Regions from separate parts of the Homo sapiens genome. Here region 2 is linked to region 1. Evidence: promoter capture Hi-C in human tissues and cell types (Jung and others, 2019). All regions are on one chromosome and are shown on one strand. The core of a region is centred on a gene start or on the middle of the fragment in contact, and the rest is flanking DNA. Distances in the headings are between cores, read along the strand shown. Region 1 holds the start of MAVS (mitochondrial antiviral signaling protein). Region 2 holds the start of LINC01433 (long intergenic non-protein coding RNA 1433).

The links. Contacts are between HindIII fragments. The study calls those that stand out against the background at their distance.
Region 2: a fragment that was not itself captured here is called in contact with the fragment with the promoter of MAVS in region 1 in 1 of the 25 tissues and cell types used here (dorsolateral prefrontal cortex).

Annotation. Positions count from the first base shown.
Region 1 is chr20:3,843,959-3,851,561 of GRCh38, reverse strand. It overlaps MAVS (mitochondrial antiviral signaling protein), which reads right to left and starts at 4,728. Exons shown (of 7, transcript NM_020746.5): 1 at 4,659-4,728. RefSeq lists enhancers at 217-718, 6,673-6,812 and silencers at 4,452-4,831, 5,262-5,311. The HindIII fragment of the contact is 19,994 bases long and covers 1-7,603 here.
Region 2 is chr20:4,188,201-4,195,430 of GRCh38, reverse strand. LINC01433 (long intergenic non-protein coding RNA 1433) reads right to left here and starts at 2,341. Exons shown (of 3, transcript NR_033917.1): 1 at 2,185-2,341; 2 at 53-149. RefSeq lists a silencer at 14-195. The HindIII fragment of the contact is 6,243 bases long and covers 1,496-7,230 here.

The DNA.
Region 1 (7,603 bases), core at 3,479-5,978:
CTTGTTTTGACAGTACGGTAATTCAGCCTTATAAACTTTTTTTTTTTTTTTTTTTTTTGAGACAGAGTCTCCCTGTCGCCCAGGCTGGAGTGCAGTGGTGTGATCTCGGCTCACTGCAGCCTCCATCTCCCACATTCAAGCAATTCTCCTGCCTCAGCCTCCCGAGTAGCTGGGATTACACGTGCCCACCATCATGCCTGGCTAATTTGTTTGTTTGTTGTTGTTGTTGTTTTTGAGAAAGAGTCTCGCTCTGTTGCCCAGGCTGGAGTGCAGTGGCGTAATCTCGGTTCACTGCAACCTCTGCTTCTCGGGTTTAAGCAATTCTCCTACCTCAGCCTCCCGAGTAGCTGGGATTACGGGTACACGCCACCATGCCTGGATAATTTTTATATTTTTAGTAGAGACGGGGTTTTATATGTTTTAATGTTGGCCAGGCCGGTCCTGAACTCCTGACCCCAGGTGATCTGCCTGCCTTGGTCTCCCAAGTTGCTAGGATTACAGGCGCCAGCCAACGCGCCTGGCCAATTTTTGTATTTTTTAGTAGAGACAGGGTTTCACCATGTTGGCCAGGCTGGTCTCGAACTCTTGACCTCAAGTGATCCTCTTGCCTTGGCCTGCACAGTGCTGAGCCACTGTGGCCGGCCTCTAAGCTTAAATTTTTTTTTTTTTTTTTTTTGAGACGGAGTTTCGCTCTGTCACCAAAGCTGGAGTGCTGTGGTGCAATCTCGGCTCACTGCAAGCTCCACCTCCTGGGTTCACACCATTCTCCTGCCTCAGCCTCCCGAGTAGCTGGGACCACAGGCGCCCGCCACCACACCCGGCTAATTTTTTGTATTTTTAGTAGAGATAGGGTTTCACCGTGTTAGCCAGGATGGTCTCAATCTCCTGAACTCGTGATCCGCCTGCCTCGGCCTCCCAAAGTGCTGGGATTACAGGCGTGAGCCACTGCGCCTGGCCTTTTTTTTTTTTTTTGAAATGGAGTTCACTCTTTTTGCCCAGGCTGGAGTACAATGGCGCGATCTCGGCTCACTGCAACCTCTGCCTCCTGGGTTCAAGCGATTCTCCTGCCTCAGCCTCCCAAGTAGCTGGGATTACAGGCATGAGCCACCACGCCCCGCTAATTTTGTATTTTTAGTAGAGACAGGGTTTCACCATGTTCCGGTCTCGAACTCCCGACCTCAGGTGATCCGCTCACCTCGGCCTCCCAAAGTGCTGAGATTTACAGGCGTGAGCCACCGCGCCCAGCAGCTTAAAAAAATTTCTTTTTTTTTTTTTTTTTTTTTTTTTGAGACAGTCTCGCTCCTTCACCCAGGCTGGAGTGCAGTGGTGCAATCTCGGCTCACTGCAAGCTCCGCCTCCCGGGTTCACACCATTCTCCTGCCTCAGCCTCCCAAGTAGCTGGGACTACAGGCGCCTGCTACCACGCTCGGCTAATTTTTTGTATTTTTAGTAGAGACAGGTTTCACCGTGTTAGCCAGGATGGTCTCGATCTCCTGACCTCGTGATCTGCCCGCCTCGGCCTCCCAAAGTGCTGGGATTACAGGCATGAGCCACCGCGCCCAGCCAGCTTAAAAATTTTTAAGTGCCTCAAATATAAGCAATTGCTGCCAGTTGTTTATGTAGGAGTTACCACAATTTGCAGTTATAGATGTATTTGCTCGTTACTTTTCTGCCGCCCCCATCAGGGAGTGCTGCAGGGAATAAAAGAGACAAGGTCTATGCCACATCCAATTTATATTCTAATGGGGTGGGACAAATAACAGATCAGTAAATTAATACCCAAATAAGAGTTCCAGATAGCAATAAAGGCTCTAAAGAAAGTAAAGCAGGTAATGAGACAGAGCCCCTGGAGACAGGCATGCTACTTGAACTAGGGGGTCAAAGAAGCCTTTCTGAACTAGCGTGCAGAACACAGCTGAGCTGTTCTCAGGCTCTGAGAAGATTGGTGTTTTAGGCAGAGAGCATGGTAAATGCAAAAGTCCTAAAACAAGAATGAGCTTGGCATGTTTGAAGAATAGAAAGCAGGTCAGTGTGGTCTAGGTCAAGAAAGCTAGGGATGGCTGGCTGCGTGACTCACGCCTATAATCCCAGCACTTTGGGAGGCCTAGGCGGGTGGATCACCTGAGCTCAGGAGGTTGAGACCAGCCTCGCCAACATGGTGAAACCCTTTCTCTACTAAAAATACAAAAATTAGCATGGTGGTGGGCGCCTGTAATCCCAGCTACTCGGGAGGCTGAGGCAGGAGAATCGCTTGAACCCAGGAGGCAGAGGTTGCAGTGAGCTGAAATCATCCCATTGCACTCCAGCCTGGGTGACAAGATCAAAACTCCATCATAGGAAAAAAAAAAAAAAAAGCAAGCAAGCTAGGGAAAGGGGCAGAGATTGTCAAGGTCAAGGAGGTGGCAGGGGCCACTCATGTAGAGTGCTGTAGGAAAGGACTCTGGGTTTTAGTTGGAGTGAAACAGGGAACCACTGGAAGGTTCCGGCAGGGAAAGAAGAGGATCTGATTTACATTAAAGACTTCTCTGGTGGTTGTGAGGACTTTGGAGGGGCCAGGATGAAAACTGGGAGACCAGTAAGGAGGCCACAGCCCAGGAGACAGGATGACTATGGTCAGGATGGGAACCACAGAGATGGCAGGAGGCAGCCAGATTCCTGGTGTTTTGAGGGTGTAGGAGATAAGGGAGAGAAAAGAAGCATGACTCCTTGGGCACTGGGTGGATGGAAGGTGCCCTTTTACCAGGCCAGAGAAGCCAGGGGAGGAGCAGTGGCTCAGAAGGGACTCCAGAACTCAGTTCGGAACAAGTGAAGTTTGAGATGCTATTGGATTCCAAGTGGGTTGTCAGGGAGGGAAGGAGGCAGGAGAGGACCAAGTGGGCATCAGGCAGGCATGAGACCTCTCTCAGGAGGCAGTGCTGTAGAGCAGACAGCACCTAAAAGCTGTTGGGCCACCAGACCTTCCTCACAGGGGAAGCAGTCCTGTCACTGGCCTCAGAGCCTCACATGCATGAGTTGCTTTGCCAGCCAGCAGGCCCTGCTACATTCCTCGTGGGGCAAGTACTAATGACAGGTCAGGAGAATCAGGAAGGTGAGGCGGGGGTCCTCTGAGCCTTCAAGAAATTAGCAAAGAACAACTCTATGGGAGTTAATAGATCCCTTTCTCGGCCGGGCGCGGTGGCTCACGCCTGGAATCCCAGCACTTTGGGAGGCCGAGGCAGGCAGATCACTTGAGGTCAGGAGTTTGAGACCAGCCTGGCCAACATGGTGAAACCCCGTCTCTACTAAAAATGCAAAAATTAGCCAGGCATGGTGGCACACACCTGTAGTCCCAGCTACTCAGGAGGCTGAGGCAGGAGAATCTCTAGACCCAGGAGGCAGAGGTTGCAGTGAGCCAAGATTGGACCACTGCGCTCCAGCCTGGGCAAGAGAGTGAGACTCCATTTCAAAAAAAAAAAGACCCCTTTCTCCTTCCTTTCTCATGGCATCAGCCAGGTACCAGAAGGCAGTCAGATGAGGCACTCTTCTGCATTCCAGCTTCAGCCACAGATGGAGGGGAAGGGATGATGTGGCCCAAACAAAAGGAAAGGAAGCCCACATTTGTTCACATTTATGGAGGGCCCATTGTAGACAGGCACATCCTAAGGTTCTTTCAGTTAATCCTTCCCCAATCCCGTGACAGGGAAAGTGTTGCCAAGGTGCACAGCTGGCCAGAGGCTAGCACAGGATTTGAACCCAAAACCTGCTGCCTCACTGCAACTGGTCATACACCTTGCAGGGCACAGAGACCCCTGCAGCGAGACCCACACAGCCACCTGCCTTCAAGCCCAAAGAGGACCCAAGGTCACTTGGCGGGAGGGAGGCTGAGGGTGCACTTAGGTGGAAGCAACATTTAGTCCAGACATTAACCCTGCTTTCACATGGCTGCCACAGGTCCCAGGTCGCTGGCTGTCCTCCTAGATATTTTTGAGGCTTCACGGCTTCCATACAGAGAATCCCTTTTTCGTGTTTTTGGTTTGTTTCATGTTTTCTTGGCACTTCCTTCCCAACTGAGAAGGAAGTAGGTGACAGAGTGTTCCCAATACAGCAAAGTTTCCGACCTGACTGTCCAGAGGCTCTGAGTGCATCCCGGAAATAAACACCCACCCTTCCCAAAGGGACAGGCCTCACAGCCTTGGATCGGATTCCTGGGCGCGACCCAGGTCCGCGGAGGGCGGGGAGGCCGTTTTGAGCTGGTGTCGCCGCCGAGAACTGTCCAGACCCAGCGGAGGGCGGCAGCACTCGACCTCTAGGCGCACCCGGTCGAGGCTCGGCCCCACCTTAGCGTCACCCTGGGCCCGCGGGCGGCAGGAGGAGGTCAGCGGCCGCTGCCCGTCCCCTTCTGGCCCTACCTTTCCCCCAGCCTGAGCAGACGCCCAGCGCCACCTACCCCCTTTTCCCCGGATGCTGGATGCGGCGCCTGGAGCCCTCAGTGTTCCCGAAACTCTTGCGACAGGGCCCGCTCTTCCGGATCCCCGCGCGTCCTGTCCCCTCCTGGGCCCCCCGCGCACCCCAGACCCAGGGCGTCCCGGCGGACTCCGTCCTGCCGCTGCAGCCACCTTCCCTAAAGGCGTCCGTGCGTGCTGAGCCGAAAGGACCCAACGCCCGGGAAGCGATCTTACCTCGGGTACCCCCGGCCCTGAGACCTGGCGACCGCCGCCCGGGGCCCAGGACCCTTCCCGCAGCGAGGAGGCGGGGCGGGCAGAGCGCGCGGCCATTGGCCATGTGGAGGGGCGGGGCTACTCGGCCGCGCGTGGTTGGCTGGCGACGCAGGCGGCTGCGCAGCGGGGACGGTCACTGGGCCTTGGTTTGCGGGTCGGGAAGCGCTAGACTGGGCTCGGAGAACCGACCTGATTTTTTGCTGGGGGCGCGCAGTCTCGAGCAACTTCCAGGGGAAGTCCGGTGTCCGGCCAGAAACCAGGCAGGTGGCCGGCCTCGGAGTCATCGGGGGGCTGAGAATTCCATCCCCACGCTTCCCAAGTGAAGCAGCCCCTCCTCCCCCTGGGAACTTTGAGGGGTGAGGGTCTTCGTGTCGTTCTCTCCGGCACCCCCATGGCCTGGCATACAGTTAGTGCCCAATAAACGTTGGGTGCCGCTGAAGTCACAGGGGCAAGGATGCCTATCCTGGAGACGTGCACGCTGGGCCTGTGGGAGTGGGAGCGGGCGGGGGACTGCTGGGTAGGTAGGCGCAAGGCAGGGACGCCAAGGTTGGCTGGCGGGCAGGCTGGGTATGGGTTGGGTGCTGCGTGGGAGAGGCCTCTTACGCCCAAGGGCCTGGGACAGGTACCTCCCGCAGTTCCTGCCATCTGCCTCGCCCTTCCCCTTCTGGGGCAGAGGCCAGCACTTACTGAGCACCTACGATCTTCCAGGCACAGGGTCTTCTATTCTTTTTTTTTTTTTTTTTTTTTGAGACAGAGTCATGCTCTGTCGCCCAGGCTGGAGTACAATGGCGCGATCTCGGCTCACTGCAACCTCCACCTCCTGGGTTCAAGCAATTCTCCTGCCTCAGCCTCCCAAGTAGCTGAGATTACAGGCACATGCCACTGCGCCCGGCTAATTTTTGTATTTTTAGTAGAGACGGAGTTTCACCATGTTGGCCAGGCTGGTCTCAAACTCCTGACCTCAGGTGATCCTCCCACCTCGGCCTCCCAAAGTGCTGGGATTACAGGCGTGAGCCACTACGCCCAGCCTCAAGTGAGGTTTTATTACTGTACTTTATATCCCTGTGAATATTTCACAACCTTCAGCATTTACAAAGTATGCTTAATCACACCTGAACTGTAATAAAACCAGCTCTGCCTAGTTTAGCCAAGAGGGCATAAATGTTGATTAGTTCAAGAATCAATCCTGCCTGCTCCCCACCGGAGCAGCTCTAGCAGCTTCATATCTAATTCTTTCAGGAAGAACATTGAAAGTGTAGGAGCGGGCTTCCAAGTGCAGCTATCACTCCTGTCTTTGCTGGACCTCAAAGAGCATTCAAACAATCCCACTGCCTGACTAGGTGGTTCCCTGCCACCTATCAACAGCTTTTATAAAGATTTAGACAAAGAAGAACACAACAACATGCTTATGGTATTCCTATCAAAAGCTCATGATCTGAAACTAATCATAGGGAAACAGTAAGCAAACCCAAAACGAGAGACATTTGACAGCTGTCCTATCCAATACAATGGCTACTAGCCACATGTAGCTATTTTAATTAAAATTAAATAATACTTAGAAGCCAGTTCCTGAGACCCACGAGCCACATTTCTCTTTTTTTTTTTTTTTTTTTTTTTTGAAACAGAATCTCACTCTTTCACCCAGGCTGGAGTGCAGTGGCCCAATCTCGGCTCACTGCAACCTCCGCCTCCCGGGTTCAAGTGATTCTCCTGCCTCAGCCTCACGAGTAGCTGGGACTACAGGCGCATGTCACCACGCCCGGCCAATTTTTGTATTTTTAGTAGAGACGAGGTTTCACCATATGGGCCAGGCAGGTCTCAAACTCCTGACCTCAAGTGATCCACCCACCTTGGCCTCCCAAAGTGCTGGGATTACAGGCGTGAGCCACTGCACCTGGCCCATGAGCCACATTTCAAATGCTATTTTCATGTAGCTAATGGCTTCATACTCGGTGACACAGAGCATTTCTATTTTTTTTGTTTGTTTTGTTTTGAGACAGAGTTTCACTCTTGTTGTTGAGGTTGGAGTACAATGGCGTGATCTCGGCTCACCACAACCTCTGCCTCCCAGGTTCAAGCGATTCTCCTGCCTCAGCCTCCCGAGTAGCTGGGATTATAGGCATGCACCACCATGCCCAGCTAATTTTGCATTTTTAGTAGACACGGGGTTTCTCCACCTTGGCCAGGTTGGTCTCAAACTCCCGACCTCAGGTGATCTGCCTGCCTCAGCCTCCCAAAGTTCTGGGATTACAGGTGTGAGCCACAGCGTCAGGCCCAAACAGAGCATTTCTATCATCACTGAAAGTTCTATTGGATAGCACTGCTCTGCAGAATAACTCTTCAAAAATTTCAAGGTCAGGAAAAACAAGGAGACTGAGAGACTGCTCCAGAGAAAAGGACACCAAAGTGACATGACAACTGAATGCAATATGGGAACCTGGGTTGGATCCTGAAACAGAAAAAGGACTTCAGGTGAAATCCAAATAAGGCTTTTGGATCAGTTAACAATAATCTAGCTGGGCATGGTGGCTCACGCCTCTAATTCCAGCACTTTGGGACGCCGAGGTGGGTGGATCACCTGAGGTCAGGAGTTTGAAACCAGCCTGGACAACATGGTGAAACCCTGTCTCTACTAAAAATACAAAAATCAGCCAGGCATGGTGGTGGGCACCTGCAATCCCAGCTACTCAGGAGGCTGAGGTAGGAGAATCGCTTGAACCCGGGAGGCAGAGGCGGCAGTGAGCCGAGATCGCACCATTGCACTCCAGCTTGGGCAACAACAGTGAAACTCTGTCTCAAATTAACAACAACAACAACAATCTGTCAGTGTTAGGATCATTGTACTGGGTTATGTAAGATGTAAACATTTGCATTATTTTTGCAACTATGTTGTAAATCTGAAATTA
Region 2 (7,230 bases), core at 3,368-5,867, 340 kb before region 1:
AGGCATGGGAAGCACAGGTGGAGGGTCAGCCTAGGAGAGGCAGAAGCCTTACCTGCCACTGTCTGCAGGGAAGCTCCAAAGGACAGGCATGAAGGCTGGTGAGCTTGTCGATGGGTGAGGAAGTTGCCTCCAGGTGGCTTCTATTTTGTCTATGAAGCAAGAGACCAAATTGCCTATTGACAAATGATGGTGGAGAGGGGTGTCCTCCGGATTTCCACCATTTATCTTGGCTTCTTCAATCCCTTGCTTATTCATTCTGCAAATATTTATTGATAACCTATTATGCTAGGCACTATTTTGGACTCATTGGACGTGCAGAAGTGAACATAGAACTTACATTCGGGGTTGAGGGAAAATAAATAAACACATAAACATCAAAACCAAAAACATCGGGGAAAGAGAAGGACTATGAAGAAACAGGCAGGATGAGAGAGCAGAGAGTGCGGGAGGCTGTGGAAACAAGGTGCTCAAGGAAGTCTTTTGCTCAGGAAGTCTTCCCAAAGAAGTGACATCTGAGTAGAGATCTGAAGGCAGCAGCAAAGAGCCTTGCAAATATCTGGGGTACGGGGGCATTTCAGTTAAGGAGGACAGCCAGGGTAAAGGGAAGGAGAGGGTGGAGAGGAGGTGCGACCCAGGGAGACAGATCACATAGGATGTTGGAAATCACCTTTGATCGTTAGCATGATGGTTGTTACTAAGAACCAGGGAAGTGGCGTGGCTGGATTTATATTTTGAAAGGATCATGCTGCTGCTGTGTAGAGGACAGGCTAAAAGGGACAGTCGTGGAAAAAGGAACCCCACTTAGGAGGCTGTTGCAGCCATACACAGCAGAGATGTGAGGAGCGGTGAAGGAGGCTCAAAGTCATCAGACTCAGGATGTGTTTTGTAGGGAGAGCCAACAAGATTTGCTGATTGCAAATCTGATGATCAGATGTGGAATATGAAAGAAAAAGGAGTTGATGATGGCCCAGGTGTTTGCCCTGGGCCAAATGGTGGTACCACTTACTCAAATGTGGAAGACCAAGGGTAGATTAGATTTAGGAAGAAGCAGAATTTCTGCTTTAAATATGTTAAGTCCCTGGAAAGATTCTGCAGGCAGTGTTGTTATTTGCTTTGCTTCGGCCAGCAGGTGTGGCTCTGTTTTTTTCCAGCAGCAACTGATGGTGGCCCAGCCGTAGCTGTAGACTGAATGCTGATTGGAATTGTGTCAATTGGCTTTAACAAAACAGGGGGTAAGAGAGTTGAGGGTATTAGAAAGAGACCCAGTGAAATGACAGACCAAATGTAAAACTCCAGTCCTGGAACCAATTTTAATTAGTTTGAACTGATCAGAAGTGACAGAAGCCTAACCCAAACTAATTTGAGCAAAAGAGGAGGAACCAATGGCTCAAGTAACAGAAAGCACACCCAAGTAGCTCATAGAAGAGAAGAAAGAGCTTCAAGGCATAATAAAGTGGCCACATGACCTTGAACTGGGGATGAAAGACAGCTGTGTAACCCCATGTGCCCCATGTATGGGAGTGGGATGGTAGCAGATCTAAGACAAAAGGGAGTAGCTGGGACTACAGTGAAATGGAGAGGGAATACCCAATCCAACGCATTGAAATTGCACAAACACAGAGTTTGCAGAAATAAAATGTGCCTAACACTTTGCATTCTCTGAGAGAGATCCAGGCTTTGAACGTTCTGGCAAAATCGGTGTTAAACAATCACCGCTAGAATCATGGGAAGTGAGAAGACTTTTGTACCTACCAGTCTCAAGCTGAACAGTATGAAACAGGGCAGTGAACGACCCCCTTTTTTAATATTAAATACATAACACAAGATTAGATGTCCTGGCTGCCACCTTAGTAGAGCAACAACTCTGCCTGCGTGTTGATGGCTTGATTGTCCTACACAAATAAGGAGTCTCAACAAACAGCCCAGCCAGTCATTATAAAGAATACAGCCTTCTGTAACTCTACCATTAAGTTTGGCAGACCACTAATTAGACAGGCAATTCTCAAGAACTGAACCAGCAGCCTAACTCACTCTGCACCTTGGAGTTACCCTTGAGCTCACCCCCAACAGGACCTAGTAAGTTAAGGTGACTCAAACTAGAGGTGCTTCACTCCTACATTTGTTTGCAGGAGGGGCAGACACTCCAGGCAGCTCCCAAGAAATAGGATATAACATATTACTCACCTGTCATACAGCAGCAAAGGCAGCAAGAGACAGCGCCTGCCAAATACCCCAGGCCCTTGGAGGACACAGTTCTGAGGTTTGCACAAAGCCACAGCTAAATACCTTCACCTGAAGTCCCTGATGCCCACAGCACGAGAAACCATGCAACCAATTCTCCATAGAACCTGGTGCAGGAAAGAACTTTCCTCTCCTGTGAACTTCTACCAGGCAATGGGAATTTTATAGGAATCATTGGCATGGGTGTTGGCCTGAGCGTGCCACATTTGCCACTTCTGATAGAGCCCTTTGGGTTTCAATCTATGCCAAGTCTATTGTGAAACTTCATCACAGCATGAAACATATCCTGTGTTCCTTGTACGTCATACCTCCTCACTTCTGAATGGCTCTTGCTCTTCCTTGCTCATCTGTAGTGAGTGAGTTTGGTTTTTGGAACTGTCAATCATAAATGGTATCCACATTATGCAATTATTGATGTGGAGGCAGCACACTGCAGGAGGTGCCCCCTCTGGCGCCTGTCCCTGCCTGTGTGTCCAAAGGCTCCCCCTCGGCTTCCTCCCCGGGTTGCTCCCTTCCCCACGAGGTCATGTCCTCTCCAAGCCGAGTAGCCTTGCATGGCCTCCCCGAGGTCCTTCCGAGAACCTCCATTTCCTCTGCTGTGGAACAATCCCAACCCCTCTTTCGTGGTTGCAGATGCAGAGAGGATAAGGGGATACAGGCAATGGAGCTGGTAAACAGTGACATCCTATATTAATTTGAGGTCACTGCTTATCACCAGGCAGCCAGTGGGGCCTAAGAGGGCCCCTCCTCCCTTTATCTGCTCTCAGATGTGTCATCTCTGCTGCAAGGAGGAAATTAGCTGGGCCAATATGACCATGTTTTGGAATGGGAGAATGGAGGGAGGCATTCTCAGACTCTTGAAACTTTCTTCCATGTATAACTTGATGCATTTTTACCAACGTGTATGCCCATGCAACCGCCACCCAGATCAAGATGTGGAACACTTCCGTTACCCCAGGAAGTGCCCCCATCCCACTCCTGCCCAGCCGCCACCCCCAGCCCCTCATTTCCAACACAGTAGATTAGTTTTGCAAGTTCTTGAACGTTACATAAAAGAAATCATATAGTACATAGCCTTTTGTCCGGCTTCTTTAACTCAACATAATGTTTTGAGGGTTTTTGTTGTGTTGTTGTTGTTGCTGTTGCTGTTTTGAGATGGAATCTTGCTCTGTTGCTCAGGCTGGAGTGCAGTGGCATGATCACAGCTCACTGCGGACTCAACCTTCTGGGTTCAAGCATTTCTCCCACCTCAGCCTCCCCAGTAGCTGAGACTATAGGCACGCACCACCATGCCCAGCTAATTTCTGTATTTTTTGTGGAGACGGGGTTTCGCCTTGTTGCCCAGGCTGGTCTTGAACTCCTGAGCTCAAGCAATCCACCTGCCTTGGCCTCTCAAAGTGCTGGGGGTACATGAGCCATCATACCCTGCCAACATAACATTTTTGAGGTTAATCCATGTTGTTGCAAATATCCATTCCTTTTATTTATTGCTATATAGTATTCCATTGTGTGAGTGCACTGGAATTCATTCTACTGTTGATGGACATCTGGGCAGCTTCCAGTTTTTTAGCTGTTAGGGTCCATGTTACTGTGGACACATTGGTATATATGTTTGGTGAGCACCTGCACGCCTTTCTCTTGGGTGTATACCCAGGGGTGGGAACGCTGGCAAGCACATGGCCAGTTTTAGCTGACTCCGCCACAGTCCCCCAGTGTGGTCGTACCACACCCACTCTCTCCAGCAATGGCCTTAAGCTTTTTTGGTGGCACCAGCCTCTTCTTTTCATCATACAATAGAACGAGCCTACACCACGCAGTCAGACAGACTTCAGCTCATGTCTCGGCACCTCTGAGCAACCCTGGGCAAGTTACTTAACTTCTCTGAGGTTTCACTTGCCCACAGGAATAAATAAAGCCTGAGTTGGCATCACTGTCAAATCAGTATCACATTCACATGGCATAGTGCCAGGCAATTGGCACTAAGTGAATATTCTCTCCCTCCCTCTTACCCACCCATGAAGCTCCCTGAAGTGCAGTCACCAAGTAAACATTTCCAGACCTTTCACCCCACCATGGAGTCCTTTAAAATTCCTCTGCCTATACACTGAGAACCTATTTATCACTTTCTTCCCCGATACTTATGTGATGGGGCTGCTTGTCTCCATCCCACTGCAGTGGATGGGGAAATCCAACAACTGAGGAGTCAGAAGCAGACAGCAGACTATGAGTCATGGAAGGTAACAGGTAATAGAAGGTGGCTTCCATAAAGTGACCCTGGGCCAGGGAGGAGACAGACATGCTTTGACCAAAGTAAGGTCCAAATTTACATTGTCTGCTTATGTACCATTACAGAAAGATGTCCAAGACATATTGTGGGTTTTTTTGATTTTTTATTTGTTTTTCTGTTTGTTTTTGAGACAGAGTTTCACTCTTGTTGCCCAGGCTGGAGTTCAATGGCGCGATCTCGGCTCGCTGCAACCTCCACCTCCTGGGTTCAAGCAATTCTCCTGCCTCAGCCTCCCGAGTAGCTGGGATTACAGGTATGCATCACCACACCCGGCTTATTTTTTGTACTTTTAGTAGAGACAGGGTTTCACCATGTTGGCCAGGCTTGTCTTGAACTCCTGACCTCAGGTGATCCACCCGCCTTGGCCTCTCAAGGTGCTGGGACTACAGGTGTGAGCCACCGCGCCCAGCCTACAGGACATATTGTTAACTAAAACAAGCAAAATCAGGACAAGATGAATACTTTGGTGCTTTTGTATAAAAAGGAGGGAGAAGAGTGTTTTTATATTGACTTACATCTAGGAATGGATACCCCTAGGGCTGTGGGAGAGGCAACAGTGACTGGGGACACTGTGAGAGGGAACATTTCAGTGTATTGTATCCACGTGGACAGCTTTTGGGCTTAAACTACATGAACAGATCATCTATTCAGACAATTTTTCATATATAGGCTGGGCATAGTGGCTACGCCTGTAATCCCAACACCTTGGGAGTCCGAGGCGGGTGGATCACCTGAGGTCAGGAGTTTGAGACCAGTCTGGCCAATATAGCAAAACCCCAACTCTATTTAAAATAGAAAAATTAGCTGGGCATGGTGGTTCGTGCCTTAATCCCAGCTACTCGGGAAGCTGAGGCAGGAGAATCGCTTGAGCCTGGGAGGTGGAGGTTGCAGTGAGCCGGGATCATGCCACTGCACTCCAGCCTAAGCAACTGAGTGAAACTCCGTCTCAAAAAAAAAAAAAATTCATATATATATTTAGACATTTTTCAGTTATGCCAGCAGGTGGGTATGAATCCCTTGATATAAGCTCCATGAAGATTTCTGGCAGATCAACCCTGGCAAAGCAAAATGTCTGTGAGGTTTGTGCATGTAGGTGTGTGTGCGTAAGTGGATGCAGGTAAGCATGTGTGTACGTGTGTCTGTGTGTTAGACATCTCCATCACAACCTACCAGCCTGGGCAATATAATGAGACACTCTCTCTACAAAAAAATAAAAATAAAAATTAGCCAGGCATGGTGGCACATGCCTGTAGTCCCAGCCACTCCTGAGTAAGGAGGATCATTTAAGCCCAGGAGTCTGAGGCTGCAGTGAGCCATGATCGCACCGCTGTCTCCAGCCTGGGCAACAGAGTGAGATGCTATTTCAATCAATCAATCAATCACCTGGGAGGAGGAAGGGGCTGTCATGTCCTGTCAAGGGCAGGGCCCTAAATGTCCATGAAGGGGACCTGACCTAAGCTCTTCATAACTTCTCCCCATCACCCCACCCTTCAACTCTGTAGAATTCAAATTTCATCACTAGAAATCTAGGATAACAAAATGACTAACTGTTCTTTAAGATGACTGGGGACAGTGTGAATGGGGACATTTTAGTGTATTCTTATATAGCTTTTGGGCTTAAACCACATGGACAGAGCCATGTGGATCTGAATTCAAATTTCATCACTAGAAATGTGGAGTAACAAAATGACTGTTCTTTAAGGTTCTGTGTGTGTGTGTATGTAGGTAGGTATATGTGTAGGGTAGAGAGGTGAGTGTATGTAGGTGTGTGTACCTGTATATGTCATGTGGGTTATGTGTAAGGTGTAGTGGTGAGTATATGTAGGTATGTGTACCTATATATGTGGGTGAGTATATATAAGGGGGTAGATGTGTCTTTTTACTCAGCAAAAAGAGAAGAAAAAGAAGTTTTTCTTTTTTAAAAGACATCTGTAGAGATGGGGTCTCACTGTGTTGCCCAGGCTGGTTTCAAGTTCCCAGGCTCAAGCAATCCTCCTGCCTCAGCCTCCCAAATTGGTGGGATTACAGGCATAAGCCACCATGTCCAGCCTAGGACCCTTTTCTAGATGCCTAGTATGTAAAGGAAAGTATTGATTGCTTTATATTTGGTGTGTGAATTATTCCTTAATACTGAGAAGCTTGACAGCTTACATGTAAAGGATTACAAATAACACCTTCTTTTATTTTTCTGAGACAGGGTCTCACTCTGTCACCCAAGCTGGAGTGCAGTGGTGCAATCATGGCTCACTGCAGCCTCAGACTCCTGGGCTCAAGTGATCCTGCCACCTTAGCCTCCCAAAGTGTTGGGAGCACTGAACCCAGCTGACGAGAAGAAAAATCTATTCCCCAATAAATGGCAGGCCTTAGGATATTCCCCCTGTCAAAAAATAAAGCCCAGAATGACCATCTGCCCAGAGGTTCAAAAGAAGGCCACCCCAGGGGCCAGACCCACAGCCCAGTGGACAGGTGACGCTAATTAACAATGAACAAGCCAGGTGCGGTGGCTCACCCCTGTAATCCCAGCACTTTGGGAGGCCAAGGCGGGTAGATCACCTGAGGTCAGGAGTTCAAGACCAGCCTGGCCAAGATGGTGAAACTACAAAAATACTAAAAATACAAAAATTATCCAGGCGTGGTGGCGGGCGCCTGTAATCCCAGCTACTCAGGAGGCTGAGGCAGAGAACTGCTTGAACCCAGGAGGC